Linked DNA regions of Homo sapiens: region 2 is linked to region 1. The links are contacts of gene promoters, found by promoter capture Hi-C in human tissues and cell types (Jung and others, 2019). All regions are on one chromosome and are shown on one strand. The core of a region is centred on a gene start or on the middle of the fragment in contact, and the rest is flanking DNA. Distances in the headings are between cores, read along the strand shown.

Region 1 (6,181 bases), core at 1,793-4,292:
GATGAGTTCCTATTATACTGGAGGGAATGTAGGTAGTGTGAATATCAGGCTCAAATCCCAGCTTCACCACTTGGGCTTGGGCAAGTGATGTGACCTCTCCAGATTCGGTCTTCATCTTATCTATAAAATGGTAATGAATAAAATGCCTCCCTCATAAGGTTGTTGTGAGGATTTCATAAAATAGTGCATGCAAGACCCTGGCCAGTGCAATCCATGGACCTTGTTGTATGAGGGAAGGATGACGGAGGGGTGGGGGAGGGGGTAGAAATGCAGAAGTTGTTGTGGGAACAAAGAGGAAGGGAAGTTTCTGGGAGTTGGTGGCATTTGAGCCAGATCTCAGAAGATGAATTGGATACTTCCCAGCAATGGAAGGTGATGAGGGCATTCTGGAAAGGGGAACAGACTGCCTCAGAGGCCAGCTGGGGCCGGCTCACAGAGGACTCTGAAAGCCAGGCCAAGGAGCCCGAGAGCCATGCAGAGCTGAGGAGCTGGAGCAGGAAGTGCCTCGGCTTCAGAAGAAAGGAGGACTGATGAGATGGGAGGGGGCAAAGTGGAGGATGGGGGTCCAGCAAGGAAGCCAGCAGGTTGGGGATGGCATGGCTAAAAGGGCCAAGAGGAAGGGGCAGACTGGAGAGCCATGACTAGGTCAAAGCCAAATGCCTTTATGTAAACAGAAGTGTGGGGACCTGGACTAGAACCACAGGAGGGGAACCGGGAGGGAGAGGCGAGAAGAGGGACACTCTCTGTGCTGCAAGAGGAGTTACCCCACCCAAGAACCTGAACACAAACCCACCCAGACACAGACAGCACATGTGCATTCCCGCTGAAGGATACTGACTTACAGCCCGGGGACCATATTTGGCTGATAGAAGTTTTGCTTTGTTTTGTTCCTGGCCTGTTCATTTGTTTTTGGTGAATTAGTTGCAAATGTATAAAAAGCAAAAGATTTTAGATTTTACATTTTAAATGTTGGATTCCTGGCTTCTCCTGCAAAATGAAAGAATCTGGCCACCTTAGGCCCCCGTTCCCTTGTAACACTCGCCTGGAGTTGGCAATCGGGGCTCTTAGGCAGATCTAGCCTCTCCCCGACAGGTCCCACCTCAGCCCCCTTCCCTGCCTGGCATGTGTCATTCCTAATCCACAGCAGAACTGCATCATTCCTTGTATACACTGATGGCCTGAGGGCACATACACTCAGAGCCCTAGGCGCACAAGCCATGGGCTACAGAGACCACCAGGTGCAGAGTGGCTCACATGCTCCGGTGTGTCTACGCACACATACATGCACACACACACGATTCTCTGCATTCTCATGCCGGAGTTTATTCTCCAGTGCACTGTGGTTCGTTCTCTGTGTGTGTGTGTGTGTGTGTGTGTTTGTGTGTGTGTGTGTGTGTAAATATGAGCAAATGAAGTGAGGATGAATGGAATGAATGAATGAATGAAACTCAAAGAGCCTCAGTGCAGGAAGACATGTTTTTCAATCTTTCTGACCTTCTTGTCAATATGGACTAGCATCAGACACCTCCTCTTAGCACATATAGGGCCTTTCATGTGAGTACAAAGCTCTTTTCCCTTTACAGCCCATTTCTATCACTACGTCTCTCTTTCCAGAGTCTCAATTTAGTAAATGTTTACCAAGCACCTACTAGCTGTTGAGCCATGTACCCGACACTTCATGCAGGAGTATCTCATATCACCCTCACCAGCCCCACGATCCGGAATTACTGTCTCTATTTCATAAAACATGGCCAAGATCCCATGGCATGTATGGGAGGGTGGAGGACAGGAGTTGAATGCAGATTCCCTAAGAATTATTATCATGTACAAACCTGCAAACTCATACCCCTGTGCTGGTGGCATCACTCCACCAGCCTTCCCTGGCTCTGCATCCCTCACTCATAGACTCTTCATTTTATCCAGCTGTTTATCAGCAACCGTGAGCACCTTGAGAGCAGGCATAAGTTTGAATTCCATCTGGGTCCCCAGCCTGCGCCCAGACTGCTTTTACTTTCCAGTGAATAGACAGAAAAAAGAGATGTGTTTGTTGGTTGGCTTTTTACTCTTAGCACCAAAAACATTTTCCTGAGTGCCCAGCCACAAACAGGGACCAGCAGTGGGTGCCACATGGGTGCTCAGAAGTGGCCCCCACCCACACCCTCAGCACCTTCCACCCAACTCAGCTCCTGGAGTGGCCCAGGAACCCCTTTCCCAGACTGATATATTGATGCCTCCACACCCTGGAAGAAATCTGGAGCTCCCAAATTCTGGGAGCAGAGCTCTCCTTCATGCTGCAGGAACCCAAAACTTTTTTCTTAGGATGCCACAGTGAGAGGGCAGAGAAAAATGAGGATTCCTCTCACCCAGAGTTAGGACATCTCTCTGTTTCATGCCCAGGTTCAGAGATATTCACCAGTTACACAAAGGCCGTGCCCAATTACCCTAACATAAGCAGAAACACACCAACTGACATAGCTGCTCCCGCCCACCATTCACACCCCACGACCCCACCAGTTACTAATTTCATCTGCAGTCAGACAGGTCCTGAAAGGAACACTCCAGTTCCACACACACTCCCCCAGCAGCTGTTCCCACAGCAGTACCCACAGACACCCAGAAGTCACGTAGTGTGACCCTCGGATCTTCGGGCCACGCGAGTACCCCGTCACACGCACACGCGCGTACACACACACACACACACACACACACACACACACAAAGTGCCCCTGGGAGTGAGACCCAAGCCAGATCCACCAAGACCCGCAGGGGCCCAATACCCCACCCGCCGCGCGCACTGACACCCGGAGAGAGGGACGCACAGCGGCTGTGGGTGAAGCTTCACAAAACCCAGTCGATAGACACACGCACGAGTTGTACACAAAGCCTTGGGGCGCGCAGATACGCACACGCAGGTCCACGCTGTTGTACCCAAAGTTGCGCGCAGAAAGCCCCAGCACGCCGGCTGCCCACCGCGCCCGCTCCCGCCGGCCCAGTCCACACCCCCTGCTCCTGCCCTTGCCCACAGACGCGGGACCCGGAAGGCCGAACCGGACCAGGCGGAGGCCCGGGGAGGCCGGGTCCCCTGGTCGCATGTCCTTCGGCGGGCCGCGAGGTCAGGCTCGCCGTCCTTCGCCGCCACTCCCCGCCCCCGGCCCTCGGCCTCCTGCCGCCCCCAGCGGTCCCCTCTCCGCGTGCGTACCTGTGCCGGGCCTCCCTCCCCGCCTCACCACGCTGGGGCGAAGGGCGCCCGGCCGCCGGCGGGCGAGGGTGCGTCCTCTCCGGTGCCCGTCCGCCTTCCTGCAGCCGGCGTACGCCTGCGGGGGTCTCGCCTGCGGGGGTCTCTCTCCTGCGGCGCAGCCCGGAGGGCGCGGGCCCGGCCGCCACCGCCTCGCCCTCCCGGTCTCCCGCCCCCTTCCCGGCCCGGCCCGGAGCCACTGCCGAGGCGCACGTACCTACTCGCGCCGCGCGGAGCTGTACGGCGGCGGTGGCGGCCGCTGGGGAGGCGGGGGGGGGATCCGGGGACGGAGGGACGGGAGAAGGGGCGGGGGCCGGGGCTCGCCGAGCGCCGCGGAGGGAGCTCCGCCCGCGGCCGGCGAGGGCGCCCGGAGAGTTAGCAAGGAGAGGGACAGGAAGGCGGGTGATGGGCTGGGGCGAGGGTGCGGGGGCTCCGATCCACCGTCCTCCCCTCCCCTCCAGGCAGATCTGGATCGCCGGCGCCTGGGCTTAGGGAACTGGGGCTTGGAGCCCGCGGTCCACGGGCGCAGGGGCGGGGCGGGCGGGGGCTGCTGAAGAAGATCCCTCCCCACCACCGGAGAGCCCCTATTGCGCCAAGCGCAGGTGCCTCCCCACTCCTCACCCCCACTCTGCCACTTCCCCTTCCCCCCACCCCCACCCCGCACGCAGCCCCCAGGTAGGACCCCGGGTCCTCTCCGAGGTCCTTAGGTCGGGACGGTCTCCTCGGGCGCTTGCGGCTCCGTGGCTCAAGGGCGCCACCTGAAGGCTGCAAGAAAGAATCCGACGATCCCCCTCCCCCTTTTCTCTGCAATTTTTTTCTCCGTGGGACAGTGGAGTGCTCCGCCCAAGAGGGGTGTTCTCCTGGGGGCATTGCCAATGGCCAAACACACCCTCACCCTCCAAGGCCCAGCTGTGGGGCCTCTTCTCCTGGAACCCCTCCCTGGGCACACACCCACTTACCCCACGGGCCCCTCCATCTGGGCTCTCCTTTTGCCCGCACTGTTTGCTCTTGTCTCTGACGGTCGTGATTTTGTTTAAGGGTCAGCCTCCTCCATCGGATTGGCAGCTCCTGGAGAGCAGGACCCATGTCTGATCACCTAGAAGACCTAGGTGGGTGTGGGTGAACAGGCTGTGAAAAGGGGTGACTTTCACTTCTTTCCTTTACAGGGCCGGAGTTAAGATGAGTCCAGCGAAGTGCCTAGAGTACCAAATTCATGGAGACGTTTCCTCTTTGGGGAACACACGCCAACCCCAGAGACAGCTTTGGTCTGAATCGTGCAGGTTCCGGGAAGACACGGTGACCAGCTGAATCGTGTGGTCTCGGTTAGTACCTCTGGCCTCTGAGCCTGTATCCACTTCTGTCCATGAGGATTGTGAATGTGCAGGCTTTGAGGGCTCTGGGAAGGCCAGCAGAAGTTGGCCATGTGGAAGGACAGGCGAATGAGTGTGCCATGTCCTGCTCCTCGGCCACCTCATGAGCGGAGCCTGACCTGCCCTCCTCCAAAGTTCTGTGCAGCCCTCCCCAACCAGGAGACTGGAAGTCACCCTGGATGATGGATGCCTGTGCCTTCAAGGCCAGCATAGCCTAGCCCTAGGCAGGTCCACCAGGGCTGGGAAGGCCTCCATTTCCTCCCAGCCTTGCAGAGGCCTGGCCCGTTGTTAGAGACTTCAAAGGGATGCTAGCCCTGGCACCACACTCCTGTTCAAATCCCAGCTCCACCCCCACAGCTGGGTGCCCTGGTGTAAAGGACTGCCCTCCTGGAGCTCGGTTTCCTCCTCTGTGAAACGGATGTAGGAAGTGTTATGGGAATGGGATGAGATACCGCCTTTAAAGCACTCACTGTTCCTTCCCTCAGTCATGCGCTGTCCTACCTCAGCCTTTGCGCTGGCTGTTCCTTCTGCCTGGGACGTTTTTCTTTCTGATATTTCCCGCACTCACCCCCTTCCCTCACTTCCTTCAAGTCTTTGCTCAAATGCCACCTTCTCAGAGACGCCATTCCAGGCCATCCTTTCAAAAATAGCAGTGCCCCAGCACTCTTTACTCCCTCACTCTGAATTTTTCTCTATAGCACTTACCAACTGACATTAGTTTCTGTTTGCTTATTGCCACCTCCCCTAAAAAATAAGTGCCAAAAGAAGAGGGTTTTTGCCTGTTTCCCTCCCTGCAGTATCCCCAGACACTAGAAAAGGGGCTAACACCTAGGAAGCTCTGGATAAGTGCTCACTGAATAAAGAACAGAGAAAATGGGCAAATATTATATACTAGTTAGCTAGGTAGACTCCATCCCTACACTCAGGAAGCTTGTATTCTAGTGGGAGAAAAGGATAAGTAAATGTAACATTGCAGTTATAGTAAATGCTACCAAATAAAAGTATAGAGTGCAAGCCTCAAACAAGGGTGCCAACCTAGTCTTGGGGATAGGAATGGCTTCCTGTAAAAGTGTGGACTGAGCTGAGATTAGAAGGATGAGTAGAAGGCAACCAGATAAAGAGGGGAGGAAAGAGAAGTCCAGCAGAGCGCCTAGCATAGGCGAAGACCTTGGGGTAGAAGGAAGTGTGTGACGAGTTTGAGAGTTGCAGGAGACCAGTATGGTTGTCATGGAGGGCCTGATAAGGAACCTGGTAGGAGACGAGCCTGGGCTTAGCAGGTCAGGTCACTGCAGAGCCTTACAGGCCAAGTAATTTGTTCTTTATCCTCAGAGCAGTGGAGAGCCTCACTGATGAATGTAAGTAAAGGGTTAACAAAACCTTTTCCTCTTTTGCATGAGAATTTGACCTTTGGAAGCTCTGTTTCCTGGAAACAGATAAACATATGTCTGCTATGTTACTAAGCAACATTGCTTCTGATAAAAATGACCCCTGAGGAGGAGGCTAGAATGATCCATGTGGCAACAGATTAGAATTGGAGATACCAGAATGAACTCATGTTTAGCTTAATATAGATGCA
Region 2 (6,181 bases), core at 2,238-4,737, 36 kb after region 1:
AAAGCGGCCAGGAAGCTTGAACTGAGTGGAGCCCACTGCAGCTCAAGGAGGCCTGCCTGCCTCTGTAGACTCCACCTCTAGGGGCAGGGCACAGCTGAACAAAAGGCAGCAGAAACTTCTGCAGACTTAAACATCCTTGTCTGACAACTTTAAAGAGAATAGTGGTTCTCCCAGCACGGAGTTTGAGATCTGAGAACGGACAGACTGCCTCCTCAAGTGAGTCCCTGACCGCCCAGTAACCTAACTGGGAGGCACCCCCCCAGTATGGGGGCAACTGACACCTCGTAAGACCGGGTGCCCCTCTGAGCTGAAGCTTCCAGAGGAAGGATTAGGCAGCAACATTTGCTGTTCTGCAGCCTCCGCTGGTGATACCCAGGCAAACAGGGTCTGGAGTGGACCTCCAGCAAACTCCAACAGACCTGCAGCTGAGGGTCCTGACTGTTAGAAGGAAAACTAACAAACAGAAAGGACATGCACACCAAAACCCCACCTGTACGTCACCATCATTAAAGACCAAAGGTAGATAAAACCACAAAGATGGGGAGAAACCAGAGCAGAAAAGCTGAAAATTCTAAAAATCAGAGCGCCTCTTCTCCTCCAAAAGAACACAGCTCCTCGCCAGCAATGGAACAAAGCTGGATGGAGAATGACTTTGACGAGTCAAGAGAAGAAGGCTGCAGATGATCGGTAATAAGAAACTTCTCCAAGCTAAAGGAGGATGTTCAAACCCATTGCAAGGAAGCTAAAAACCTTGAAAAAAGAGTAGACGAATGGCTAACTACAATAAACAGTATAGAGAAGTCCTTAAATGAACTGATGGAGCTGAAAACTGTGGCATGAGAACTACGTGACACATACACAAGCTTCAGTAGCCGATTTGATCAAATGGAAGAAAGGGTATCAGTGATTGAAGATCAAATGAATGAAATGAAGCGAGAAGAGAAGTTTAGAGAAAAAAGAGTAAAAAGAAATGAACAAAGCCTCCAAGAAATGTGGGACTACGTGAAAAGACCAAATCTACATCTGATTGGTGTACCTGAAAGTGACGGAGAGAATGGAACCAAGTTGGAAAACACTCTTCAGGATATCATCCAGGAGAACTTCCCCAACCTAGCAAGGCAGGCCAACATTCAAATTCAGGAAATACAGAGAACGCCACAAAGAGACTCCTCGAGAAGAGCAACTCCAAGACACATAATTGTCAGATTCACCAAAGTTGAAATGAAGGAAAAAATGTTAAGGGCAGCCAGAGAGAAAGGTCGGGTTACCCACAAAGGGAAGCCCATCAGACTAACAGCGGATCTCTCAGCAGAAACTCTACAAGCCAGAAGAGAGTGGAGGCCAATATTCAACATTCTTAAAGAAAACAATTTTCAACCCAGAATTTCATATCCAGCCAAACTAAGCTTCATAAGTGATGGAGAAATAAAATACTTCACAGACAAACAAATGCTGAGAGATTTTGTCACCACCAGGCCTGCCTTACAAGAGCTCCTGAAGGAAGCACTAAACATGGAAAGGAACAACCGGTACCAGCCACTGCAAAAACATGACAAATTGTAAAGACCATCGACACCAGGAAGAAACTGCATGAACTAATGAGCAAAATAACCAGCTAACATCATAATGACAGGATCAAATTCACACATAACAATATTAACCTTAAATGTAAATGGGCTAAATGCTCCAATTAAAAGACGCAGACTGGCAAATTAGATAAAGAGTCAAGACCCATCAGTGTGCTGTATTCAGGAGACCCATCTCACGTACAGAGACACACATAGGCTCAAAATAAAGGGATGGAGGAAGATCTACCAAGCAAATGGAAAACAAAAAAAAGCAGAGGCTGCAATCCTAGTCTCTGATAAAACAGACTTTAAACCAACAAAGATCAAAAGAGACAAAGAAGGCCATTACATAATGGTAAAGGGATCAATTCAACAAGAAGAGCTAACTATTCTAAATATATATGCACCCAATACAGGAGCACCCAGATTCATAAAGCTAGTCCTGAGAGACCTACAAAGAGACTTAGACTCCCACACAATAATAATGGGAGACTTTAACACCCTACTGTCAACGTTAGACAGATCAACGAGACAGAAAGTTAATAAGGACATCCAGGAATTGAACTCAGCTCTACACCAAGCAGACCTAATAGACATCTACAGTACTCTCCACCCCAAAACAACAGAATATACATTCTTCTCAGCACCACATCACACTTATTCCAAAATTGACCACATAGTTGGAAGTAAAGCACTCCTCAGCAAATGTAAAAGAACAGAAATTATAACGAACTGTCTCTCAGACCACAGGGCAATCAAACTAGAACTCAGGATTAAGAAACTCACTCAAAACTGCTCAACTACATGGAAACTGAACAACCTGCTCCTGAATGACTACTGGGTACATAACAAAATGAAGGCAGAAATAAAGATGTCCTTTGAAACCAATGAGAACAAAGACACAACATACCAGAATCTGTGGGACACATTTAAAGCAGTGTGTAGAGGGAAATGTATAGCACTAAATGCCCACAAGAGAACGCAGGAGAGATCTAAAATTGACACCCTAACATCACAATTAAAAGAACTAGAGAAGCAAGAGCAAACACATTCAAAAGCTAGCAGAAGTCAAGAAATAACTAAGATCAGAGCAGAACTGAAGGAGATAGAGACACTAAAAACCCTTCAAAAAACCAATGAATCCTGGTTTTTTTAAAAGATCAACAAAATTGATAGACTGCTAGCAAGACTAATAAAGAAGAAAAGAGAGAAGAATCAAATAGATGCAATTAAAAATGATAAAGGGGATATCACCACCACTCCCACAGAAATACAAACTACCATCAGAGAATACTATAAACACCTCTATGCAAATAAACTAGAAAATCTAGAAGAAATGGATAAATTCCTGGACACATACACCCTCCCAAGACTAAACCAGGAAGAAGTTGAATCCCTGAATAGACCAATAACAGGTTCTGAAATTGAGGCAGTAATTAATAGCCTACCAACCAAAAAAAGTCCAGGACCAGACAGATTCACAGCCGAATTCTACCAGAGGTACAAAGAGGAGCTGGTTCCATTCCTTCTGAAACTATTCCAATCAATAGAAAAAGAGGGAATCCTCCCTAATTCATTTTATGAGGTCAACATCATCCTGATACCAAAGCCTGGCAGAGACACAACAAAAAAAAGAGAATTTTAGACTAATATCCCTGATGAACATCGATGCAAAAATCCTCAATAAAATATTGGCAAACCGAATCCAGCAGCACATCAAAAAGCTTATCCACCATGATCAAGTTGGCTTCATCCCGGAGATGCAAGGCTGGTTCAACATATGCAAATCAATAAATGTAATCCATCATATAAACAGAACAAAAGACAAAAACCACATGATTATCTCAATAGATGCAGAAAAGGCCTTTGACAAAATTCAATAGCACTTCATGCTAAAAACTCTCAATAAACTAGGTATTGATGGGACATATCTCAAAATAATAAGAACTATTTATGACAGACCCACAGCCAATATAATACTGAATGGGCAAAAACTGGAAGCATTCCCTTTGAAAACTGGCACAAGACAGGGATGCCCTCTCTCACCACTCCTATTCAACATAGTGTTGGAAGTTCTCGCCAGGGCAATCAGGCAAGAGAAAGAAATAAAGGGTATTCAATTAGGAAAAGAGGAAGTCAAATTGTCCCTGTTTGCAGATGACATGATTGTATATTTAGAAAACCCCATCATCTCAGCCCAAAACCTCCTTAAGCTGATAAGCAACTTCAGCAAAGTCTCAGAATACAAAATCAACGTGCGAAAATCACAAACATTCCTATACACCAATAACAGACAAACAGAGAGCCAAATCATGAGTGAGCTCCCATTCACAATTGCTTCAAAGAGAATAAAATACCTAGGAATCCAACTTACAAGGGATGTGAAGGACCTCTTCAAGGAGAACTACAAACCACTGCTCAGCAAAATAAAAGAGGACACAAACAAATGAAACATTCCATGCTTATGGATAGGAAGAATCAATATTGTGAAAATGGCCACACTGCCCAAGGTAATTTATAGATTCAATGCCTTCCCCATCAAGCTACCAATGACTTTCTTTCTTTTTCTTTCTTTCTCTTTCTTTCTTTCTTTCTTTCTTTCTTTCTTTCTTTCTTTCTTTCTTTCTTTCTTCTTTCTTTCTTTCTTTTTCTTTCTCTTTCTTTCTTTCCTTCCTTCCTTCCTTCTTTCTTTCTTTTTCTTTTTTTGATGGAGTCTCGCTCTGTTGCCCAGGCTGGAGTGCAGTGGCGCCATCTCAGTTCACTGCAAGCTCCGCCTCCTGGGTTCACACCATTCTCCTGCCTCAGCCTCCCGAGTAGCTGGGACTACAGGCGCCCGCCACCACGCCTGGCTAATTTTTTGTATTTTTAATAAAGACGGGGTTTCACCATGTTAGCCAGGATGGTCTCAATCTCCTGACCTTGTGATCCACCTGCTTCGGCCTCCCAAAGTGCTGGGATTACAGGTGTGAGCCACTGCGCCCAGCCTGACTTTCTTCACAGAATTGGAAAAAACTACTTTAAAGTTCACATGGAACCAAAAAAGAGCCCACATTGCCAAGACAATCCTAAGCCAAAAGAACAAAGCTGGAGGCGTCACGCTACCTAACTTCAAACTATACTACAAGGCTACAGTAACCAAAACAGCATGGTACTGGTACCGAAACAGAGATATAGACCAATGGAACAGAACAGAGCCCTCAGAAATAATACCACACATCTACAACCATCTCATCTTTGACAAACCTGACAAAAACAAGAAATGAGGAAAGGATTCCCTATTTAATAAATGGTGCTGGGAAAACTGGCTAGCCATATGTAGAAAGCTGAAACTGCATCCCTTCCTTACACTTTATACAAAAATCAGTTCAAGATGGATTAAAGACTTAAATGTTAGACCTAAAACCATAAAAACCCTAGAAGAAAACCTAGGCAATACCATTCAGGACATAGGCATGGACAAGGACTTCATGACTAAAACACCAAAAGCCATGGCAACAAAAGCCAAAATTGACAAATGGGATCTAATTAAACTAAAGAGCTTCTGCACAGCAAAAGAAACTACCATCAGAGTGAACAGGCAACCTACAGAATGAGAAAAAATTTTTACAATCTACCCATTTGACAAAGGGCTAATATCCAGAATCTACAAAGAACTTAAACAAATTTACAAGAAAAAATCAAACAACCCCATCAAAAAGTGGGCGAAGGATATGAACAGACACTTCTCAAAAGAAGACATTTATGCAGCCAACAGACACATGAAAAAATGCTCATCATCACTGGCCATCAGAGAAATGCAAATCAAAACCGCAATGAGATACCATCTCACACCAGTTAGAATGGCCATCATTAAAAAGTCAGAAAACAACAGGTGCTAGAGAGGATGTGGAGAAAGGAACGCTTTTACACCGTTGGTAGGACTGTAAACTAGTTCAACCATTGTGGAAGACAGTGTGGCAATTCCTCAGGGATCTAGAACTAGAAATACCATTTGATCGAGCCATACCATTACTGGGCATACACCCAAAGGATTATAAATCATGCTGCTATAAAGACACATGCACACATATGTTTATTGCGGCACTATTCACAATAGCAAAGACTTGGAACCAACCCAAATGTCCATCAATGATAGACTGGATTAAGAAAATGTGGTACATATACACCATGGAATACTATGCAGCCATAAAAAGGAAGAGTTCATGTCCTTTATAGGGACATGGATGAAGCTGGAAACCATCATTCTGAGCAAACTATCGCAAGGACAGAAAACCAAACACCACATGTTCTCACTCATAGGTGGGAATTGAACAATGAGAACACATGGACACAGGGTAGGGAACATCACACACCGGGGCCTGCTGGGGGGTGGGGGGAGGGGGGAGGGATAGCATTAGGAGATATACCTAATGTAGGCTGGGCGAGGTGGCTCACGCCTGTAATCCCAGCACTTTGGGAGGCCGAGGCCGGTGGATCACCTGAGGTCGGGAGTTCAAGACCAGCCTGACCAACAGGGAGAAACCCCGTCTCTATTTAAAAAAAACACACAAAATTAGGTGGGCGTCGTGGCACATGCCTGTAATCCCAGCTACTCCGGAGGCTGAGGTAGGAGA

Evidence for each region. The method cuts DNA at HindIII sites, captures the fragments that hold promoters and counts their contacts. A contact is called where the count stands out against the background at its distance.
Region 2: a fragment that was not itself captured here is called in contact with the fragment with the promoter of TMEM74B in region 1 in 1 of the 25 tissues and cell types used here (heart left ventricle).

The regions. Positions count from the first base shown.
Region 1 is chr20:1,181,939-1,188,119 of GRCh38, forward strand. TMEM74B (transmembrane protein 74B) reads right to left here and starts at 3,043. Exons shown (of 3, transcript NM_001304748.2): 1 at 2,364-3,043; 2 at 1,833-2,010. The coding sequence starts at 1,863. The HindIII fragment of the contact is 7,340 bases long and covers 1-6,181 here.
Region 2 is chr20:1,217,223-1,223,403 of GRCh38, forward strand. No RefSeq gene overlaps it. Among named protein-coding and RNA genes, the nearest start is that of RAD21L1, 5.7 kb to the right of the region's middle. The HindIII fragment of the contact is 6,646 bases long and covers 165-6,181 here.